Linked DNA regions of Homo sapiens: all the other regions are linked to region 4. Evidence: promoter capture Hi-C in 16 types of primary human blood cells and fetal thymus (Javierre and others, 2016). All regions are on one chromosome and are shown on one strand. The core of a region is centred on a gene start or on the middle of the fragment in contact, and the rest is flanking DNA. Distances in the headings are between cores, read along the strand shown.

Region 1 (2,863 bases), core at 291-2,790, 110 kb after region 4:
GAGCCACCACATCTGGCCTATTTTTGCTTCTTTAAATCTTCATCTGTTAGACTATAAACATTCTGAGAGCAGAACATTTGCTTATAATTTTTCTTCTGTGTCTTCAGGATGGTGTCTATTCAAAAATATTTAAGTGAATTAAATAGCATTTCTCAACCTCCATGTAAGCAAACATATATATTTGTACTTTTGTCAGATGTAGATACATTTGATAGTATATTTTTTCTTTGAACTTACCCTTTTTTAGGTTTTTATTTCCTCTTGCCTAACACTTGACCCTGACTCAAAATTTTCAACAATCCTGGAAGTGATCTCTCCTATTGCATTACTTTTTTTTGTGTGTGTGATGGAGTCTCAGTGTGTCACCCAAGCAATCTCGGCTCACTGCAACCTCCACCTCCTAAGGGTTCAAGCAATTCTCCTGTCTCCACCTCCTGAGTAGATGGAATTACAGGCACGCACCACCAAGCCCAGCTAATTTTTGTATTTTTAGTAGAAACAGAGTTTCACAATGTTGGCCAGGCTGGTCTCGAACTCCTGACCTCAGGTGATCCACCCACCTCAGCCTCCCAAAGTGCTGGGATTATATTACTTCTTTAAGCACTCAGGCTATATCTCCTCCCTGAGACTTTTGTCATAACATCCTGAATAGGTGTCACTTTGCCTCCCTTTCCCCCTCCAGCTCCATTCTAGACACTCAGTGCCATTTCCAAAGCACAGTTCTGAAATACTCTGTGATTTGTGCTTGGGTATGTGAGAACCTGAGCATGTGGGATATGAGAAGCAGGTAGAGAAGACATTATTTATGATGCAAGCATAAGAGGAAATAATTGCGTTATATCAAGGAAGTACCTAAGGTTCAGCCAACATACTGTTAGCCCAATTTTCAAGAGATTCCAAAACACCCCAAGAAAGAGTAATTCACAAGCAAGTACACAAAGATTTTTAGGAATAAAGAACCATTTTTATTACAAATGATTGACTTCCGCAACTGTAGATGTTATGATCATTAACACAGTCATAACAGAGAATCAGAGATTAAGGGAGCAAAAGATAACATTTGGAAAACAGTCAGATGACACCATGGATCCTATGGCCATGATTTCATTCAAAGAAATGTGAGGCTAGAGGTCGAAGATTCTGTCAAGCATGTAATTCTTGGATATAGAAATCTTGGAGTACGAATCCTTGAATCAGCATTATCTTCAGACGTGTCATTTTAGAAGCAAATGGTCCTCCGACAGTGATGTTTTAGCAGGAAGAATAGCATCTTCTAAAGCAAAATGGCCGGTAGCCACAGTAGCCAGAGCCAGAGCCATATCCACAGCCATAGCCAGTTCCATAACCACAGCCATAATGGGAGCCAAACCCACAGCCATACCCACAGCCATAGCCAGTTCCATAGCCACAGCCACAGCCAGAGCCAGAGCCATAGCCACAGCCACAGCCGGAGCCATAGCCACAGGAGTTGCCGTAGTAGTTGCAACACATGTTGTCAAGAGGAGAGAATTGAGATGGGTTTCAAGAAGATGCTTCTGAGGTGTGGATGTCTTCTACTTCCCTGAGACCTTTATATACTGTCAGTAATTGCCAAAGCATATCACTCATTCCCTGACTTAGGCAACAAATATTTAATCAATTATTATGTGCCAGTCACTGTTGACCATCAATAATATTTTGCTTAAAATGAGCCAATTATTTTGGAGACTCTAGTTTCATTTCAGGAACATCATTTTAATCTGCTCTGCCAAAGAACTGCCTCAATGAAATCATGTGCCCAAATATAAAGCTGATACTAATTTTCAAAATCTCCTATCAGTAAATTTATATCTTACATAACAAGTTTTGGGAGGATAATAACAAAATTTTATCCTTTTTTTCCTCTCTTTTTTCCTAAAATGTCTACCTCTACCCATAGGGAAGGAGACACTCCTATCTCCTTTCCTGAGTCATTACAACTTCTTGCCAGACTTCTTTCTCCAACTCACTCTGCACTTCCACACCTACCCCTTGTCCAACCTCCCTCAAATCCCAAGAAACATATTCACATCTGATCATTCAAAGCCAGAATGTATGCTATCTGCAAGTGCTTCCTACATTTTCCTTCCATCCACCAGGCAAACCAAGACCCTGGGGAGGCAGAGAAGCCCTCCTTTTGTCTCCCATTTCTTCAGCTATATAAGTAATTGTCATTGAGGAGCCTTTTTAAAACTAAACAGCTTCATTTGGATAAGGAAGTAAAAAAATTCATTCGACCAGAAACTCAGTTCTTTCCTCCAATACAGATTTCATCAAAGTTTTGCATGATGAAATACAGATACATTCCTAGAATTTAATAAACCATTTTTCTTCTCCTTTCACTACTATTCCTTGGACATTTACTTCAGAAGCTAAAGGATAGTGGACAATTTTAGGTTACTGACAGCAAAAGCCCACCATTAACAACTAACCCTTCTATGATATAAAGTAGCACAAAAATAAATTTTGTCCCGTTTCCATACACGCATTTCACACTACTCATTCAAAATTCTCAATTACCCACTTATTACAAGTTCTCAATCTTCTACAAAAATATTCATCGTGATTTTGAAATCCGAGGTGCCCTCCTTCTTCCCAACAATCCTCTCTATCACACTTACCTTTTCAAGATACAAAAGAGGAAAATTAGTATCATTTTTTCTGCCATTAGTATTTTTCTCATCACCCTCAATTATCAACCAAAAAAACCTTCTGTTTATACATCAAAAGTCAGATCTGGAATCACTTTCTACAGGATGCCTTTCCTCATTGCTACTGTGGATTACATTTTCCCTTCAGTTGGAAATCTTTCCTTTTTTTTCTGCTATCTGTCACTCGTCTCATC
Region 2 (3,039 bases), core at 124-2,623, 100 kb before region 4:
CGATTCTCCCACCTCAGCCTCCCAAGTAGCTGGGACCACAGGCACGTGCCACCACACCCAGCCAATTTTTGTTTTTTTAGTAGAGACGGGGTTTCACCATGTTGACCAGGCTGGTCTCGAACTCCTGACCCTGGGTGATCCACCCGCCTCGGCCTCCCAAAGTGCTGGGGTTACAAGCATGAGCCAGCGTGCCCGGCCTCTCTCGGTGTTTTTAATTCAGACATCCCTCAGGTTTACTTTTGAGAAATAATATCTTTTGGGAAGCAAGGCTTGAACTCTACAGGTAGGAACACAGAAAGACAAGTAATTTAACTTGTCAAGGAGGTAGAGTAGATTCTCATATGTTCAATAGTTTAAAATTGATTATACATAAAGGACATTATACATTTGATAAGTCAGTGTTGGGTACATGCGAGCTTTGATAGCATTCTTTAGACCTTACGTATTATTACAAATATTATTTATATTAACTCAATGTTTTATTTAAAATTCGCTTTCATTGATTAACATAGAATTACTGTGCTTTGAGATAAACCTCAGAATACAAACACACTAATTGGAATGAAGATTGCAATAAGTTATTGTTTAAAACTAAGTCATAAAAATAATAGTGTACATAATCATATTCTAAAAACAAAATCACACACAAAACCACTGAAAACAGATAAAAAGTAAAGACAGATGAAAGTACACAGTGATTTTGTCCATCTTATTCTTTTATATCTTCAGGACTTAGAATGGTGCCCAAATTTGGAGACACACAATGAATATATGTTGAATAAAATATATTATTGAGGCAAAACTGTTGAAATAAAAACACCAATTCAGAGGAAAGAAGACAAACAGCTTGATTGAAGTCTCATCAATGCATTTGAAATGTACTAAAATGAATTGATAAAGCCATGTTTGCTATTCAAGTTAAACGTGTTTATTTAAAACTATTTTAAAATACATGTCACAACAGATGTCAGTGACTAAATAATAATAGGTGAAACCCTGATTCAATGTAATGATTCCAGATTCTTCCATAAAAACTGATGGCTAGTTCCTTCTGGAGCATGAAGCCAAAAAATGGTAGGTATTTTCTCTACATTGAGAAAAGTGTTCGCCTTGCTGAAGCATACGGGCAAGATCTTGGAGTTAGAGTATGAGAATCAGCAAGTTTTTTAGTAGAATCCAGAGAATCCATATCCTTCACGGCATGATGGGCGGCAGCAGCCATATCTATAGCCTCCATAGCCAGAGCCATATCTGTAGCCTCCACAGCCACAGCCATAGCCCAGACCACCAAAGCCTCCACAGCCATATCCCAGGCCTCTGTAGTAGCTGCCATAGTATCTCATGGTGTCAGGGACTAGAGATTCAGTTCAATGCTAATGATGAGTTTCCTGAGTGTAGGTGTCTCTAACTTCTCAGAATGATTTTATACTCTAAGTAGTGGGTGTCATGAACAACAATGACAGGTGATCTTATTTCCACATAACAGAATAATTTTAAGTCTAACAATTGTTTATTTTTTTTCTTTTCTTATGTAACAAAGGGTCCAAACTATTATTTAAAGACTTTTAGTCTTTAGTTTGCATTCCTAAGAACAAAATATTTTGAAGATGAAAAATGATTATAGCCACTTCAAAGGCCAGGCTGGTGTTGTAATTAAAATGGTCTAATCGGGTTGATAGCTTCCAGTAACGCTGTAATTACATAACCTCATATTGCTTTTCTTTTTAATTTGCAGTCCATCGTCTTGGTTACTTCATTCCCAGAACCCAAGGACTTCTCTTCATGGTAGTCAGGGCATAGTCACAAAGTCATTAGTGATTTCCAGTAGTCAAATTTAGAGGAAACCTTGGTTTTTGACTCATTTGAACTTTAATTGACCTTTGACATTGCTAACCTTCCATCCATTCATTCTTTTGTAAAGCTTTCTTGCCTTAATTTCTATGAGAAACCTTCAATTAGCTTCCTCTGCCAATTTTTTGTTAGGCTTCTTCCCAATTTTTTATTCATCCATTAACTTCAAAAGTGTACCTTTTCCTCTGCATACACTTTTCCCATGAAGTTCCATTAAATATTATTTTTCTTTTTTCAAATTTTATTTTTAAGAATACATAGTAGAGTATATATATCTATGGGGTATATGAAATACTTTTATACAGACATGACAATGCATACTAATCACTGGTTAATGGAGTAATAATCACTGGTAAATGATAAATAGGGTATCCATCCCCTCAAGCATTTATCCTTTGTGTTAAAGCAATTCAATTACACTCTCTTATTTTAAAATGTTCGATTAAATCAATAATTTAATTTAAATGCAATTTAATTATACATTTTAAAATAACTAAGAGAGTATAACTTAGTATGGCCACACTTTTGTGCTATCAAATACTAGGTCTTATTCATCATTTCTATTCCTTTGTACCCATTAACCACCCCTACTCCTCCATCACTCACATCCCTCCCCACCCCTACCCTGCACCCACCTACTCCCCTTTCCATTCTCTGTTAACCATCCTTCTAGTCTCTATCTCCATGAGTTCAATTGTTTTCAATTTTTAGCTCCCACAAATAAGTGAGAACATACAAAGTTTGTTTTTCTGTGCCTGACTTATTTCACTTAGCATAATGACGACCAGTTCCATCCATTCTGTTGCAAATGACAGGATCTCATTATTTTTTATGGTTGACTAGTACTCCATTGTGTATACATACCACATTTTCTTTATCCATTCATCTGTTGGTGGAAAATTAGGTTGCTTCCAAATCTTTGCTATTATGAACAGTGCTGCAACAAACATGGGAGTGCACATATCTCTTTGATATACTGTTTTCCCTTCCTTTGGATGTATACCAGGCCTCCATAGTAGCTGCTGTAGTAGCTCATGGTGTCAGGGACTAGAGATTAGGTTTGATGCTAAAGATGAGTTTAGCACCAGCAGTGGGATTTCTGTGTCATATGGTAGCTTCATTCTTTGTTTTTTGAGAAACCTCCAAACTGTTCTCCATAGTGGTTGTACTAATTTCCATCCCCACTAA
Region 3 (2,824 bases), core at 247-2,746, 76 kb after region 4:
ACACTTTGCCATAGAGGAGAATTGTTTGATATCCCCATATAAATAGTCCTAGACTCACTTTATCATACATAGCAGTCTCATAGAGCAATTCCTTCGCCACCACAGGAATGGAGTCAGGAATTTTTTTTTTTTTTAGATGAGTCTCACTCTGTCACCGGGCTTTCTTAAATAATTTTATAATTATGTAACAAATATAACTGAAGAAAAAAACAACTGATTTTTGACTTTGATTTTGAGAGAGAGAAAGATATGAGGAGAAGTAGAAGGAGGAGGAGAAGGGAGAAGAGGAGGAAGAGGAGAAGTAGATGCAAGGTGATGAACAGGGAAATAGTGTAAGAATGTCATTTCTATTTCAAGTGGAATGTTAGGCAAAGTCTCCTAAGGAGTTCATATTAACCAGAATCCCAAAAAAAGTGACAGAACTGTCTATGAGAATGTTTGAGAAAAGGCCGACGGAATTAGAATTAGAATCATTGTGTTCGTGTGTGTGTGTGTGTGTGTGTGTGTGTAGCCAAGGCGGGTGGATTATAAGGTCAGGAGTTCGAGACCAGCCTGGCCAACATGGTGAAACCCCGTCTCTACTAAAAATACAAAAATTAGCCAGGCGCGGTGGCGGGTGCCTCAATCCCAGCTACTTGGGAGGCTGAAGCAGGAGAATCACTTGAACCTGGGAGGCGGAGGTTGCAGTGAGCCAAGATCGCGCCACTGCACTCCAGCCTGGGTGACAGAGCGAGACTCCATCTCGAAAAAAAAAAAAAATGTTTCAGTGATTCTCTCTCCTCCTCCCTTTTCTTTGGCTGATAATAATCTACTATTCTACACTAAGGATGATATCATTCCACTTCCTTTCTTCATTTTGTATATTTAGAAGTATATCTAATTAACAGGTACATATTTATTTAATATTAAATATGTGGTGGATACTGACAATTAAATAACTCAAGTTTTATGTAGAGTAGAAAAGATAAAGAGAAAAAGAGTTATTGAAAGTTAAGAAGAAATTTCTAAGAAGCTAAGGATCAACTAATCTACATAGTGGTCTGGCTTTCAAGGGGGTAAAACATGCCCCAAATTGGTGTTGACTCACACACGCACACAAAGAGCATTTTATATTTTTCAAAATTTCAAAATAGTCATATTTTCCATCTCTCAGTGAAACCACATTATGTCTATGACTAACAGGTACTTTGAAGACAAATGGAGTTTTCACCAGATGAGTCATTTTTCTCTAACGGAGAACTATCAGGATTGAAGGTGATTAAAGCAGAACAGATCTTTGAGAAACTAAATAAGAAACAATGCTCAATGGCATTTCTTAGAAGCAAAAAATATCAGATCATCTATAACAGAATATTTATTTTCATAACAACCATAATAACCGTTACAGCCACAGTGGGTGCTGTGTATACAGCCATACCCACAACCATAGCAAGAGCCAAATCCACAGCTCCCACACACACTTTTGTAATTGAAATACATAGTGTCAGGAGATGAGAATTCAGCCAGGTAACAGCATTTCTGGAGTTTGGAACCCTTGGGATCTTTCTATATAATAAGAGGTCTGCAAAGTGTGTGCCATCCCTACTTTGCCTTCTCATTCCCACAAGAATTTATATTTAACAAGCTTGTTGTTGTTTTATTCTGTGTCCTAAGAAAGCCTCTCATTTTAGACCTTCATTTAATTCCTGCAAGTTAATCATAGACTGTAAAAAGTAATTTGTACACTCTGTATACATGTTCTCAGTGAGCCCCAAATGTACACTCCACAAATATCATGATGCTAAATCTTGCAGGGAAGTACTTCCCTCAGCTCTAACCCAAAACATTGAGAATCCCCATCCCCAGCCTCCTAGAGAAAGGAAGGGGCTTAGTGATTCCTACCTTTTCAGGTGCCACCAGTATTACCATCCAATCCACAACTGTACTACTCAGGAGAGGATAGGCATAGGAAGGCTAAATTGAGAAACATGCGTTCAATTCTATAATATTAGAATTTATTGAGAACTTTCCTAAAAAACAGAACATGACAGTAGGCACTGCTGAAAATAACATAAAAATAAAAATGAAAAACATAAATAAGACCAAGAACAGACCTTCAATGAACTCCCAGCTTAGTAAGGAAGAGAAACATTTACACAAAAAAAGTCTCAGATTGATGCGGTTAGAGAAAAAGGAAAGAGAAATCCTATGAAATAGACCTCAAAACAATCCAGACCAGGTCCACTTAGGGCCTTCATCCATGCTGGGCTTTCACCTGCAGTTTTTACAATTTAACACCCATATCTATGACTCATTCCCTCATTGCCATCAGAGTGTGTTCAAATGTCACTCAAGGAGGCCCTCCCTGAACAGTATTATTTATAGCTAGCACCCTCCCACAGATATATCTTTATTCTCTACTTAGCATTTATCAAGCCATTTATCACCATATGATAGACTTGCATTTTACTAATTTTGTTGACTGTTTTTCTCACTGGAATATAGGATATCTGTGAAGGCAGGAATTTCTTTTTTTCTTTAGGGAATAAAATAGATTTTAAAAAAGTATAATAAACTGGGGCCAAATAATAAAGAGCTTTGAATATTAAGGTAAAAAGTGTGGAATTCATTCTAAAGGTAATGGAGAACCAGAGAAGATTTTGAGCAAATTAATGGCATAATCAGCTCAATATTTTGAGATACAGAAATCACAACCATTTATCCAGTGTACTTAGTAATGTCCTATTTCTTCGAAACCATTATTTGCTAAATTATTCTCTTGAGCAAAGATCTTTCCTTGAGCACTAGCCATGGTTGCATTGAATTTGTGGCATTTTATTTTCCA
Region 4 (2,959 bases), core at 443-2,942:
AATGTTCCCTGTTTGCAGATGACGTGATTGTATATCTAGAAAACCCCATCATCTCAGCCCAAATTTTCTAGCCCTCTTATTCAGAAAGTTGAGCATACACACCAGCTCTCTGTCATCAAGTGAAGGTGGGGAACATAAGGTTGGGCTTAAGGGAGTTGTGAAAGCACAAACAACTTACAGAAGCAATTGGCTTGGATTCTCATGGTTTCCTCTCTGCTGAGTTGTCTCTTCTTTCTCAACATACACCTATGAATTTATGCTGATTTTCCAGTTGGAGAAGGAAAAATTAGTCCTGGATTATAGATGGTTCTGCCAATATGGTAGCACTGCCTAAAAGTGGATGACTGAAGTACAACAGATCAAATCGGGGATTACCCTAAAGGTCAGTGGTGAAGGAAAATTTTCAATTATTTTTAATCATCTTAAGAAATGATAGTATCTAGATTCAGCCTGCCTTTGAGAACTTAAGTCTACATATAAGTACATGATACAGACAGAGTCAATATCCCTACAGAAAAATTAATAGTCATGCCTTCTGTTATATTTGGGTCTCAAAAATGTCTACTTTACGTTCCTGTGACTTTGGAATCAGATAAGATTCTCAATGCTTTTCTTTTCTCCGAAGAAACATATCTACATTGCAGTGCAGGTACAAGATAATCAACCAAACAACTTTTTAAAGAATGCTTAAGGTGTGGAGAAGAAGGAACTAAACAGGCAAGAAAAGGGCACTACTTTTAAGAGAGCATAGCAATAGGAAAACTACAGAATAATATGTGATTGGTGGGAGTTTGTACAGAATAAATCACAGTTGATCCTTGAACAATGCAGGGATTAGGAGTGCCAACCTCCACGCAGTTGAAAATCTGAGTATAACTTTTGACTCCCCAAAAACTTAACTACTAATAGCCTACTGTTGACCAGAAGCCTTACCAATAACATAAACAGTTGATTAATACATGCTTATGTTACCTGTAATGAGAGATTATACTCCTATAATAAAGTAGGCTAAAGAAAAGAAAATTTTATTAAGAAAATAAAGAAAAAGAGAAAATGGATTTACTATTCACTAAGTGGAAGTGGATCATCATAAAGGTCTTCAGCCTTATTGTCTTCATGTTGAGTAGGTTGAGGAGGAGAAGGAGGAGGAGGGGTTGGTCTTGCTGCCGGAGTGGCAGAGGTGAAGAAAATCTGCTTAATATAAGCGTATCTGTGCAGTTCAAACTCATGGTATTCAAGAGTCCACTGTATTTGCTACTAAGTTTTATAGCGATAACATCACAGCTGTGTTGATTAAGATTTAAATATGCATATAAGAAGAAGGGTATTATTAGCAAAGTGATCGGAAGAGGATGGCATTTGCCTCCTCCACGTGATGTCATCCAACATAGCTACAAAGGTTAAATTCGGCATCAGTGTGAGTAAGGTCATGGAACTCAGTATTTTTTTTTCCTTTAAAGTCTATCAGCTGTTTGGCAGGATCATAACATACTGAGAAGAAAATCTCAATTTTATCAGGATAGGGAGTCTTTTTTTAAAATCTAAAGATACAAGATTAATGAGATTTTTAAATACAGGTTGGTCTATATGACAATGTCAGGAGTGCCTGTGGTTTGTCACACCTCCACTGAGACTGATAAAAGACCCAGTATTTTAGTGTTTTTATGCACTAAAACTTATGCTGGCCTCTCAGGCTAGAGACTTAAATCCTGACACAATGAGCTACTATGGCAACTACTACGGAGGACTGGGCTATGGCTATGACTGTAAATATAGTTATACCTCTGGCTTTGGTGCCTTTAGAATCCTGGACTGTGGCTACAGATGTGGCTGTGGTGGGGTATGGATTTGACTGCTGCCACCAATATGATTATGCTACATGCTTATTATCAGGCACTGACTGAATAATATCTACAATTGGGTCCATTTTCTTATGAGACAGGGGTGCTGTTCTACTACACTTTTTTTAATTTGTTTAACCCAATTAGAATTCTTAATGATTCCCTATAATCCCAGCACTTTAGGAGGCCGAGGCGGGTGGATCACCTGGGGTTAGGAGTTCGAGACCAGCCTGGCCAACATGGCAAAATCCCATCTCTACTAAAAGTTAAAAAAATAGCCAGGTGTGGTGGTGGGTGCCTGTAGCCCCAGCTACTGGGGAGGCTGAGGCAGGAGGATCACTTGAACCCAAAGGCAGAGGTTGCAGTCAGCCGAGATGGCACCACTGCACTCCAGCCTGAGCAACAAAATGAGATTCCATCTCAAAAAAACAAAAATAATGCTTAGTTATTCAATCTAATTCTAGGCAAAGAACACACATCATTAAATTCACACTAAATCCACATCAGTGCCCCAGATTAACTACATTTTTCTCTTCCAAACTGATGTGTTTTCATAATTTACCAAGCAAATTACTTTTTGATATGTTTCAGGAGTAGGGAGCTCTAGGTTTATTTTTAATTAAACTTACTTTGGCCAGGCCAATGTCATTCATTTTTTAAATTTATTAATTACTCACTTGTTTAATAAGTCCTCATTAAGTAATTTCTATATAGGGCTTCCTGTTAAGTCTTAGTGTTACTTATGGGAGAAGAGTTTTTAAGCAGAAAAACAAATGTTTAAATAAACATGTATGCTACAACATGATAGGTGATGTAATAGCCACGTAGGAACACAGAGGAGAAGCTCATGTTTGGATGCAAAAGAGCGAGATTGTAGAGCAAACAGATCAAAAATATTCTCATTGAAGGTTACATTTGAATAAATTTTTAACCAACGAAAAATACATTGGAGGTAAAGTGTATGCCAGGCAGGGGAAACAAATATGCAAAGCCATGAAAAAAGTATTGCACTGCAAAGTCATAAATTGATGTTATTTCTTGAGAGAACAGTGGGCAAAGTCACTGGCAGGAAATGAAGCCCTGGGCAGTGAAGAGAAACTAGAACATCAAGGCCATAT

Evidence for each region. The method cuts DNA at HindIII sites, captures the fragments that hold promoters and counts their contacts. A CHiCAGO score of 5 or more calls a contact.
Region 1: a contact is called between the fragment with the promoter of KRTAP21-1 here and the fragment with the promoter of KRTAP20-3 in region 4, in 1 of 17 cell types (neutrophils). The highest score is 9.1, in neutrophils.
Region 2: a contact is called between the fragment with the promoter of KRTAP19-6 here and the fragment with the promoter of KRTAP20-3 in region 4, in 1 of 17 cell types (neutrophils). The highest score is 7.5, in neutrophils.
Region 3: a contact is called between the fragment with the promoter of KRTAP21-3 here and the fragment with the promoter of KRTAP20-3 in region 4, in 1 of 17 cell types (neutrophils). The highest score is 12.8, in neutrophils.

The regions. Positions count from the first base shown.
Region 1 is chr21:30,753,888-30,756,750 of GRCh38, forward strand. KRTAP21-1 (keratin associated protein 21-1) reads right to left here and starts at 1,541. Exons shown (of 1, transcript NM_181619.2): 1 at 1,128-1,541. The coding sequence starts at 1,491. The coding sequence ends at 1,252. The HindIII fragment of the contact is 7,815 bases long and covers 1-2,863 here.
Region 2 is chr21:30,540,491-30,543,529 of GRCh38, forward strand. It overlaps KRTAP19-6 (keratin associated protein 19-6), which reads right to left and starts at 1,374. Exons shown (of 1, transcript NM_181612.3): 1 at 1,045-1,374. The coding sequence starts at 1,343. The coding sequence ends at 1,167. The HindIII fragment of the contact is 6,762 bases long and covers 1-1,919 here.
Region 3 is chr21:30,717,281-30,720,104 of GRCh38, forward strand. It overlaps KRTAP21-3 (keratin associated protein 21-3), which reads right to left and starts at 1,497. Exons shown (of 1, transcript NM_001164435.1): 1 at 1,245-1,497. The coding sequence starts at 1,479. The coding sequence ends at 1,303. All of the region lies in intron 2 of LOC105372773 (a long non-coding RNA gene), which reads right to left. The HindIII fragment of the contact is 10,011 bases long and covers 1-1,622 here.
Region 4 is chr21:30,641,172-30,644,130 of GRCh38, forward strand. It overlaps KRTAP20-3 (keratin associated protein 20-3), which reads left to right and starts at 1,693. Exons shown (of 1, transcript NM_001128077.1): 1 at 1,693-1,965. The coding sequence starts at 1,718. The coding sequence ends at 1,852. The HindIII fragment of the contact is 10,269 bases long and covers 1-2,959 here.